Linked DNA regions of Homo sapiens: region 1 is linked to region 2. The links are contacts of gene promoters, found by promoter capture Hi-C in human tissues and cell types (Jung and others, 2019). All regions are on one chromosome and are shown on one strand. The core of a region is centred on a gene start or on the middle of the fragment in contact, and the rest is flanking DNA. Distances in the headings are between cores, read along the strand shown. Region 1 holds the start of CHST15 (carbohydrate sulfotransferase 15). Region 2 holds the start of HMX2 (H6 family homeobox 2).

Region 1 (5,544 bases), core at 2,989-5,488, 950 kb before region 2:
CTGTTCTAAGGAACCACTAGTTGTTATTGTCCTAAATCCGGTAGAGGTTTTGGATGGGGTGTAGGAAATTTTCACAAGAACCCAAATTTCACGTGGATTTGTGATGGATTAGCATACCAAAATGGGCTTAAAGTGCACTTAATGGATGCATTACTGCAGAAGGGAGCCGCCTAACCAGAGCATTGCTAAATTTATGAAATTGAAATGCACTTCAGGTTATTGAGCAGTCTAAATTTGTCAAAGTCACAGAGTGGGAGGCAGGTCGTTACTGGTGGCAGAGGTGGCAGAAATCTGAAGCCAAGGCTGCCAAAATGAATTTGAAGTCCTCCGCAATGACCCCAAGGGCTCCCTCACACCCAGGTGCAGCCCTTTTCAGTGGCAGGAGCAGGACCTGGGGCTCCTGAGCCTCAGTGTTTACTGAGCCCCTCCTAGCATGCAGGAGGCAGAGAGTGACAAGGTGTGTCCGTTCTTTGCCCTGCCCCACAGCGCTTCCCTAATGGGTCTGCCCACTATGAATTTGAATTCATGGGCACTGGTGCACACTCATGGAATAGGCATGGCCTTTTGTCTTTGAGTGTTTGGTTTGTAAGCCTCAGTCTCCCGGCCTGAAAAATAGGGATAAGTAATACTGGCCTCATAGGCATGGGAAAGTGCTTAGCACAGTGCTTGTCACAAGGTGGGACTTTGAAGGTCCCTTTCTTCAGGAGGGGGCTGAGTCTTAGTGACCTTAGTGGTTCCCACATTCAGCCCTGTGAGTGGCACACAGCAGGTGTTCAGAGAGTGTCTGCTGAATGAATGAATGAATGAGTGAGTGAGTGAATGTGATTTTAAGGATTGTGGCAAGTCCCTGACATTCCAGGTTGCTGGTGTCCTTGTAGCATCTCTTACAGAATCTTTATTCAAGTTATACTTATTCATGGATTCAACCTCATTACGTAATTGCATGTTAACAAACATTCAATTATGTGACTATCATGGGTAAAACTACTTGCAATAATAATGATTACTAATAAGAACTACTATTTTCAACTCTTACTGTGTCCTAGGAATTGTGCTGAGTATTTTTAAAATACTTTGTCTTCAGTCTTGACACTAGCCCACTGAGGCCATGTATCAGCCAGCTACAGCCACAACAATGCTGTGTAACAAAACACTTTGCAACATTCAGTGGCTTGCAACAATAAGCATTTTCCCTGCCTTGCTCATGTTCTGTAGGTTGCCTAAAGCAGCTCTGAGTCCTGCTGTATGTGGAGTGACATGGCTCCAGACAGCGAATCAAGTTCAGGTTTCTTCCTTGTGTGTTCATTCTGAAGCCTCTCTGGAAGAGGCAGCAACATGTTCGTCTCATGGTGGACCACCAGAGCAGAGGAAAGCAGGTCTGGCCCTGCAAGCACATTCCAAGCCTCTGATCCAGTTATATTCCCCATTATCTCATTGTCTAAAGCAAGTCCAAAGTCAAGGAATGGGGAAGTACAGTCCCTGCACTGGAAGGCTGTGACAAGGATGCAGACGTGTGATAACCACCACGGGAGAGTGAGGAGTTGGGATCAACAGCTCAATTGACTGCTCGTAGGTGCTACCAGAAGCCTCAAACTGAGGCATGGAAAGAAGTGACTTGCCCAGGGTTGCTCAGCTAGTGGGTGGCAGAAGTAGAATTTGAACCCAGGCAATTTAAATCCACAGTTGTGGGGGCCTAGAGTGCACACACGGGAAGCGGGGATTTATTTTCTGAAAGTATCTGCATTTTTTTTTCTTTTTTCTTTTTTTGAGAGGGTGTCTCACTCTGTCACCCAGGCTGGGGTGCAGTGGTGTGATCTCGGCTCACGGCAACCTCTGCCTCCCGGGAATCTACGGGCTTGCGCCACCACGCCTAGCTAATTTTTGTATTTTTAGTGGAGACGGGGTTTCACCATGTTGGCCAGGCTTGTCTCGAACTCCTGACCTTAAGTGATCCACCCGCCTCGGCCTCCCAAAGTGTTGTGATTACAGGCGTGAGCTACCGTGCTTGGCCGGTATCTGCATTTTTTTCAGCCGTGACTTGCTAATACCATGTTGGTATCAACCTCTCTTGCAGTTACACATTTATTTGTCTATCCTTCCACCCATCCACAGGGACCTGGCATTTGGGTGTTCTTTCAATTCTCTGCAGTAACAGGCTCAAGTGCAATTCTTGGGTAATTTTTTGAAATTAAGGTTGAAAGGAAAAAAATCACCTTCTAGTTAATCTCAGGCACGTGTATAAATACCTTTGGAAAGTCCCTGGTGGAATTCATATCAAAGCGGCACCGTGATTTTTACTTAAAAACAATTTTGCTCCATGTCAACCGTGGTTTCTGACACCTGAATTTGAAAGTGATCTGGGTGGGCCCAGCGCCATCTCCATAACGGAGTTATGTGTTTACTTGGAGGGAGGAGAGGAAAGGCATTATTCCCTGGCAGTATGTGTGGCCCTGGAATAATGTTCCACACACCCTTACAGAAGGGGATTTCCTCCTTGCTGTTTCCACAGACCCTTCCCTGTGTTTGTTTAAACCCGTTGCACACTGGTCTGACAGCTGCCTGGCCCAGGGCCTTCCTTGCAGACGCATGTACAACCAACCCTCTTTAACAGCAACCTGCTCTGTGTCCCCTGATGCAATTACTCGAGTATATAAACCTCACTGAAAGGCAGGCTTTTCTTGGGAGCTAATAAATAAGCCCCAAAGCCACAACGTGTGTGAGACCTTGAAAAATGGCATCATCATCTATTGGGAATTGTGAACCCTGCAAAAAGCAGCTCGTTGTATTTTCAGAAATAGGTTTTTGTTTAAAAAAAAAATAAAGAACAAAAATCACTAAGTGGAGTCTATATGGAAAAAGCAATCTAGTCTGAGATTCTAAGGCAAGTCTCTTTGCTGCATTCATCTTTCTTCGCAGATTTTATGTAAGAGGCATTATTTGCAGGAAAACAAGACAGGATTTTAAAGAACTCCCCTCTCATCCCGGTTTCCCATCTGCAGTTATAATCCTCTGATGGTGACCTCTGCATTAGTTGCCATGGGTGCTGAGCAGAAGTTTATGACCTCAGGGTGGACTGTAGCTTCAGGGGGGCGAGATGAAGCCTCCGGCAATAAAGAGATAATGGGGAGAAGCCACTGTCAGGAATGACCCTTCGGTGGCATGTAGTCTACAGTTAACGGAGCACTTTCATTTCCACTTCTGGTTGCTTCGAGGAAGAGGGTGCTGGACTCTGGCCACGGGGACACAGGCCGGCAAGAGACTGCAGATTCTTTTTGTCCCTTGGACCTCAGTTTCCTGAGAGGCTGGGCTTGGTGCTCCAAGCGCCCTCTGAGCGAATCTGCCAGAATTTCATGTGTCTTTTCTTTAACTGATGGCATCTTCAGCCCAGAGTCAGTGGAGTCGGCCACTGGTGCCGCTTTCTTGCCCTCGGGCTGTCCAGGTGGTTCCCTGGGGCAGCCGACTCCAGGCCACTGCGGCAGGCCGTGGCGATCGGGGTCCTGCAGAGCTTTACCTCCCCCGCGGAAGCAAAACACGCCGGGCCAAAGAGCCGGGCCAGCCTTCCCGGGATGCAAAAATACAACAGAGGGCGCCGAACTCACCAGCGCTGTGGCCTTGAATATTAATGTACGGGCTGGCTCCAGACCGCCAAGTTCCTTAAAGATGTCTCTGGCGGCCGGGCGCGGTGGCTTACGCCTGTAATCCCAGCACTTTGGGTTGGGGGGGCGGACGGATCATCTGAGGTCGGGAGTTCGAGACCAGCCTGACCAACATGGAGAAACCCCGTCTGTACTAAAAATATAAAATTAGCCTATTTTGCGTGGTGGCGCATGCCTGTAATCCCGGCTACTCGGGAGGCTGAGGCAGGAGACTCTCTTGAACCCGGGAGGCTGAGGCAGGAGACTCTCTTGAACCCGGGAGGCGGAAGTTGCAGTGAGCCGAGATCGCGCCATTGCATTCCAGCCTGGGCAACAAGAGCGAAACTCTGTCTTTAAAAAAAAGAAGTATCTGGCAAGGTGTCACTGCCAGATTTCAGGGGTTTCGATGTGCTTTTATTTGGAATCACCGCAACACACAAGCAGTGTTGACTCGGAGGGGGAGGGGGCAGGGGCCAAACCCACCGCTCGGCGCACACGCCTTGATCTCACATTCCAGACTGGAGCTGATGTGTGTCAGCGCGACATGGGGCGGGGGGAGGGTTCTCCTCGGATGTTTCATTCGCCGTCTGCACGTCACTCCCAAACTTTTCCTCCCAGCGCTCGGGGAGTCAGGTTGACGCGCCCTGGATGCGGGGCTAGAGGCTCGGGGCTGGGCGCGCTCCCGCGGAGCCGGAGCCGCAGAGGCTCCCGGGCTGGACTCAGGCTTCTCAGGTACAAGTTAGGTGCCAGACGCCGAGGTGGGGTCGGCGAGGAGCGGCGGTAGGAGGTCTGGCCCTGGGCTCGGGGCTCCGGCGCCCCTCCGCGGGTTCGGGCCAGGCAGCGCCGGCGGCGGCCGGGGCTGGGCGTAGGGAGTCCGGGCCGGCGGAGGCGGCGCGCAGCCTCACTCCCCGCGGCGCTCCCGGCGCGGTGGTGGCGGTGGCGGTGGCGGCGGCGGCCCAGGCAGACAATGAACTTGCGAGCTCGACGAGCCGAGGCAGGTTTGGGCCCCGGGCTCCTTGGCCCGGCCTCCCCGAGGCTTCAGCGATCCCCAGCGGGAGGAGTCCCTTCGCCATTGGTCCTGGCCGCGCTCCGGGCGCCCTGCGCGCTTGAGGACCCCGCGGGAAGGGTTACCCAGCGGCGACACACGCCCCCTCCCTCGCAGAGAGGACGCGGCCGGAGCGAGGGGACAGGGGACCGAGCAGTGGCGTGGTGGCGCCGTGGATAGCCGGAGGCCGGCGGGGGGCGCAAGCCGCGTGGAACGCACCGGCGGGCTGTCCGGGAGAAGGAGCCCAGTAGTCGGAATCGGGGCGCCCCTGCACCGCCCAGCTCTGGGAGCCGCAGGCGGGGGACCGACCGACGGACAGACCAGTGCTTTCACGGTGTGAGCGCGCGTCGTTTGGCGGTAGGGGACGGGGATTCCCCCCAGCCTTGCGCTCCGCCCCCACACCCCTATCGCACTTTGGGGAAGTTTCCAGGCGCGGCCCGGGGCAGGTAAGTGGGCATCCGCCACTCTCTCCCCGGTTGCGAGCTCGGATGCGCTTCCAGAACCCTGGCTCTAGCCTTGCGGCGGTTCCGGGCGGGGAGGCCAGAGCTCTCCCGCGCCTAAGCCCGTGGGACCCGGTTCAGGGAAGGGGGATGGCGGGGGCGGGCCTGGGAAGAGATAGGGGAGCGGCTGAGCCCCGAGCGGTGTGAACTTTTGCTCCCCGCCCCCTCCTCCTTCCTCCTCCCCGCCCCGCCCCCACTGCTGTCCCCTCCCTGCGCCCCGCCGCGTCTCGGGAGGCGGCGTGACTCGGGAGTTGCCGGCGCTTCCCGGCGGTGGCGGCGTCTCTGGCCGGCCTTGGTGCGGCGAGCCGAGCGAGGCAGCTCTGAGCCGCGCGGTGAGGCCAGAGGCGGGGAGCCGGGGCTGCGG
Region 2 (5,427 bases), core at 2,349-4,848:
TGTTTTCCTTCTAGCGGATGAGATAGGGCCTCAGCGCTGCGGACTCCAGGCTCCTTTGCATCCGCTCTGCCCAGCCAGAGGCCGGAGGAGCTCGCCCCAGGTGGTGCTGAACCACCGGCTTCCTCCAAGCTCAGGCTTCCTTTTCCGAGGTTTTGCCAAGAACAGGTGGCTGCAATCTATTGGGAGCGAGAATCTGCAATTTGCATGATACTCCCGCGGCTATTCTCTCGGTGCAGCGCCCTCCCAGCCCCTGCGCGGCCGCAGGTGTCAGGGCGAGGAAGTCCGTGGGCGCCCCCGCCGCGCGTCAAGGTTCCATTCAGAGCAAGCGGCCGCGTGCTAGCCGGTGATCCAGCCACACGCTGAACCAATGCAAACTATTAACAACAAAAGAGTGTAGGGAAGCGCCTTTGCCTCCCTCACCTTCTTTGCCTGGTCCCGGGCCTCGGATCTCTCCTGAGCCGCAGAACTGCCTCACCGCGCCCAGTTCCCTCTCCGCGCGAGACACATAACTCTGCCACCGGCCGGGTAGCTGGGCGCAGCGACAAGCTGGTCGCGCCAAGCTCGCGGCGAGCAAAGTGGAGGCTTTACTAGGTACAAGCAGCGCCATCGCCTGCTTTATACCCCTGGAGAGGAAGTGCGCGGCACAGGGCATGTCATAGCGGGAGCTGCTGTGGCCAAGCTCAAGGCGAGCCCAGTGCCGGGAATATGCCGCTGGGCACCCAGCTCGCTTGTTCCCAGAAGGCAATCGCTTAAATGGCGAGGCCTGCCTCCCAGTCTTTGTCTTTCTCCGCGCGGACTCTTGAGCTGGATTCCAGCCGGGGTGCGCCCCAGCCCGCGCGACGATTCTGGGCGTTAGGAGGGAGAGTGGGCGGGCAGCTCCAGCCACGTGCAGTCTGGGCGGCGCCAAGGTCCCGACCTTTAACCCCTGACCCCGGTCCCACCCTCCACGTGGAGCGAGCCAAACTTCCACAGACAGACGCATGCAAGTCTTTCCACCGAAAAACCTGAAAACCTTCCGTGCGTTATCATGCCGGGTAACCAAGCCCACCAAAGTTAGCAAAGATGTTTAAAATGTTTTATTTTTTTTTCTTTTTAAAAATATTTACAGATCTGAACTCTCCCCTTTTCGTCCCTACCATCCTCGGGATGAGGGAAACGAAAAGAAGCAATTTAGTAATTGTCCAAAGCCTCTGAGGGCCTGGCTTGGCCGAGCGTGTATGCATGTACATATATACAGGTGTATATATGGGGGAGGAGTGTACCTGGTTTTGTAGGTGTTTTCCTGATTTTTTTCCCTACCAACCACAGCCTGTCTGGCCAAAACTCCCTTTCCCACCACCACCCGAGAACATCTCACTCCGAATGGTTTTCAAAGCGTACTGGTTCGGTCTAGGTAGGAAGCAGGCTCTCTGACTTAGGGAATGCCAATAAATACCCGAAACAATCAAAACAAAAAGTAGGGCAGAGACCATAAATAAGAGCTAATGAATACACATGGTGTATTTCTTCATATTTCTGGAAACACGCCGCCTTGCTCCGGAGCCCTGCTTACAGTACAGTACGCGCCCGGCTCTGCGGGCAGCTGGGGGCGGCGCGGGGCGGCGGGCCGGTCAGTAGTCGAGCTTGTTGTATAGGTTGTAGAGAGGTAAGGCCGAGAGGTTGCTTCCCGGGTAGTAGAGCGGCGCGGGAAAGGCGAGCGAGCGCGGCACCGGCACGCGCAGCAGCGAACTGTCCCGGAACACCAGCGGCATGCTCACCAGAGTCTGCGCCGACGCGTGCGCCATGTTGGCCGCCTCCAGCTCAGCCGAGAGCTGCCGCTTCCACTTGTTGCGGCGGTTCTGGAACCAAGTCTTTACCTGGGTCTCCGTGAGCTGCAGGCTGGAGGCGAGGCAGGCGCGCTCCGAGCTGCTCAGGTAGCGCTTCATGTCGAAGGTGGACTCGAGCTGGTACACCTGGCTGCGCGAAAAGACGGTGCGCGTCTTCTTCTTGGCCGCGCCGGCCTGCCGCTCAGCGCCGCCGTCCCGCGGCCGCTCGGACCCCGGCGAGGGCGAGCCCGCGGGCAGGAGCCTCTCTTTCTCTTCTTTAAAGTCCGAGTGCGAAGGAGAGAGGAAAGGCGTGCGCTCCAAGCCGCCCGGGCCCGAGCCTCCGCTGCCCTTGGGGGTACCTGAGGAGCGAGAACAGACAGAAAGGCCATGGAGTTGGTTGGGGAGCCTCGGAGACCGCCAGCTCTCCCTGGGACCAAGCGGTTGGCAAGCGCCTGCAGCCTTGGTCCCACCTTACCAATCCCCTCCTCTTATCCCTCTCACTGGCCCCCCAAACCCAGCACCCCGTCCTTTAAAAGCGACAAGAGAGGGACCCAGCTACTTGGAGTATGGGGTCTCTGTGCTCCCACCTTTATGAATGGGCCAGGGGCAACAGGGAGAGGAGGTCTGGAGGGGGAAACATTAGCATGGTTTTAAAAGGCGAATTTGCTTGGTGGTAATTGAGCTGGAAGAGTTCCTCGAGCTTTATAGGGTGGCATCATTTCACAGGCCGTTTGTTTGGAAATCACGCTAAGGACTAACGCAGGACTCCCCTTCGTCAAATGTTGTAAAGAGGAACCGTCTCTGAAATGCACCATTGTCAATCATCTTGGAGTGCTAATCATTCCAAGGAGGAGAGAGAGAGAAAGGCAGAGATACGGAGCGAGTGAGGAAGAAGACTCAGAAAGAGATTACGGTGGAGACAGACTGCCCAGACCCGACTTGCAGATCTCCACCTCGTGTCCGGAAAGAAAGTACCAGATGTGCAGTGATTGAGGACAGCCGGGTGTAAGGCCGGCCGCGTGTCCCTCTCGCTGTGGTCCACTCTCTCAACAACTCAACCTTCCCCAGGAAGCCCAAGCCGGCACGGGTCTGTGTTCGCCTGCTCCCAGGGGCCCACCGGGCGGAGGAGGCACCACAGTGCGCGCCCCTCTCCCCGCGGTCCCGAACCCCCGGCTGCCGCAGCTCTGGCCAGAGGGGGCCCGGCGCGGGAGTCTTGGCGGGGCGCTCAGCCTCCCTCCCCTCGCGCTCGCTCGCTGCCACACTGGCGACGTGCGATCCTTACCCAGGCAAGGAAAAGGGATGGGGGGATGGTGCTTGGGGCCCTGCTCCTTAGGGCCGTGCTGGTCTGGGCAGAAGCAGGCGGGCGCCTTCCAGCCGTCGTCCGGCTCCTCCTCCTCCGAGGACACGGACAGGCTGCGCTTCCTGGCTGGCCAGCCGACGGGCTCCCGCGGTGCCTCCGAGGGGCCCCCGCCCAGGATGGACTGGATGGTGAAGCTGGAGACGCCACCGGCCGCCGGACACCCCTTGCCCGCATCTTCTTTGCTGCCCATCCTGGGTTCATAAGAAATCGAAGGAAACCAAGAACTCCCTTTAGAGACGATCTGGGTGATCTGGGTGGAAGGTGGTGCAGCAGGCAGGCAGTGGGGAGGGGCGGGGAGGAAATCTAGGGGGAGGGGGCGCCGAGGCTGGTGAGGCGTCCCTTCCGCGCCAGGGACATGCAGGCACCGGATGGCTGCGCAGGGGTTCCTGCCCGCCTGGCTCTGGGTGCGCCCGCCCAGCCCCGGTGCAAATGCCCCTTCCTCGCCCGCCAACTCGCCGGGTCTCCGGCGGCGCGGAGGCGGCGCGGCCTCATTTGCATAGAGGTTACCCGAACGCGGCCAATCGCAGCGCCGCCGAGCGGCCCCGGAAAATTTCAAAACGCTCCGGCCAGGCACACAGCACCGGTGCGCCCCCAGAGCGCGCCGAGGGCCTGGCGGGCATCAGCGGCGTCTAACCAGGGGCAGCCAGGGCTGAAAGCAGCTGCAGATTCTAGCCCGGGTTCCTGGCGGCTGCGGCAACTCCGACTCCTTGGACCCCTTGGACCCTTCTCTCCAGAGGCAGGGGCGGTGCGGGACTCGGAGCTGGAGTGGCTCGACGCCTCCGCAGGCGACGGGTCTCCGCGCCTCCCAGGGGCTTGTACAGGCTGCTCCACCATCCTCCCCCAGCCCTCCACCCCTTCTAGCCCCAGTGGGCGGGCAAAGCCGGCACTCCTGGGACCGTGGCGCCCTGCGTGGGGGTGAGGTGGGTTAGGAGCAGGCGTCTCCAGGCGGACGCTCATCCTCTCCAGCATGGCCAGGAGCCTTGGGAGCAGACATTCCCCTTCCCCGTCTGCAGACCTCATCCCTGTCACAGGTTCTACGGACCTACAGAATCTTTAGGGGGAGGGAGGAAGCCCTAAGACCTCTAGTCAAGAGATCTGGGTTCAAATTCCGGCACAACTATTTACACACTGCATGAACTTGCACAACTCATGCCGATTAAAGCCTCTCTGCCCTCATAGTTGAAAATAACTTCTCGGATTGCCTCAGGTAGGGATTAAAAGCCTCGAAGCACTAGCAGCGCATAGTAGGTACTCCATAAACCTGGCCGGGTAGCCCATGGCCCACCCGTGTTTTAAGCGAATCTGTGTTTTTGTTTTGTAAATTTTGAAGGTTTCCGAACTGCTGCAGAAATAGACGCCTTACTCCCAGGAAGAAGATAAGGAACTGGTGACAGGACTCGGTTTTAGAATTGAGCAGACTCGACTCAATTCTCGGCTGGGTGATCTTGGGGGAAGACATTTGGAAATTCTGAGGCTCGGTTTCTTTATTCCTAAAATTGGAGGAAGCAGTGCCTCCCTCGCAGAGGCTGTTGTGAGGTCAAACTACCCAGCACCGAGCCTGGCACACCGTGGTGCTCAGTAAATAGTGATTCCCTCTGTGTTCTCATAGCCCCCTTCTGTGCCCTGGCTCTCGCCCCTTTAATTCCTAGATCAGCTGTTACCCGAGCTAGAATTAGCCCAGCCAAGCAAAGCGGTTTGGGGCCACAGTCGTCTGCACAAGCTTCCTGGAAACTGAAGTGAGGCAAGGCCCGAAGTGCTCAGGCAACCCCGTCCCCTCAAGCTGTGACCTCTAGACCTCTTGGCCAAGAGATTCCAGAAGCCCTGTCTTTAGGGTGCCCCCCAAGTGCAGCCAAGGGTGAGTGGAGACTCTGGAATCAGTCCCCACAAATGTCCAGACACTGCATGACTGTGCAGTTCCTTCCTCGCCTGCACCGCGCCCGGGTTATTAAGTAAAGCGCTTATAATATCATTAGCCGCGGTGAGTTACCGACTGCGGCCCTGCCCGTGGCAGAACTCTTCCCTACTTAACTCCTCGAGGGGCTCGTTAATGGGCTAATTGATTAGGAGTCGGCCGCGCAGCCGGGGCAGGGGCAGGCGAGGGGGCGGGGGCCAGGGGGTGCGCGCAGCGGCCCGGGAGGCCAGCGAGGGGCAGGTGCCGGCCTCCGTCACCGCATTAACCTCTTCAGGGCTCAGCGGCAGGGTCGAGACACATTACAAATGGTCAGCTTTAATCATGGTGTCAGCTCATTAACCCGGAAGGAC

Evidence for each region. The method cuts DNA at HindIII sites, captures the fragments that hold promoters and counts their contacts. A contact is called where the count stands out against the background at its distance.
Region 1: a contact is called between the fragment with the promoter of CHST15 here and the fragment with the promoter of HMX2 in region 2, in 1 of the 25 tissues and cell types used here (aorta).

What each region holds. Positions count from the first base shown.
Region 1 is chr10:124,092,292-124,097,835 of GRCh38, reverse strand. CHST15 (carbohydrate sulfotransferase 15) reads left to right here and starts at 4,238. Exons shown (of 8, transcript NM_001270764.2): 1 at 4,238-4,367. The HindIII fragment of the contact is 16,611 bases long and covers 1-5,544 here.
Region 2 is chr10:123,146,307-123,151,733 of GRCh38, reverse strand. It overlaps HMX2 (H6 family homeobox 2), which reads right to left and starts at 3,598. Exons shown (of 2, transcript NM_005519.2): 1 at 3,088-3,598; 2 at 1,062-2,164. The coding sequence starts at 3,355. The coding sequence ends at 1,611. RefSeq lists enhancers at 283-502, 793-852, 903-972 and silencers at 1,487-1,781, 2,889-3,018, 3,409-3,728. The HindIII fragment of the contact is 11,811 bases long and covers 1-5,427 here.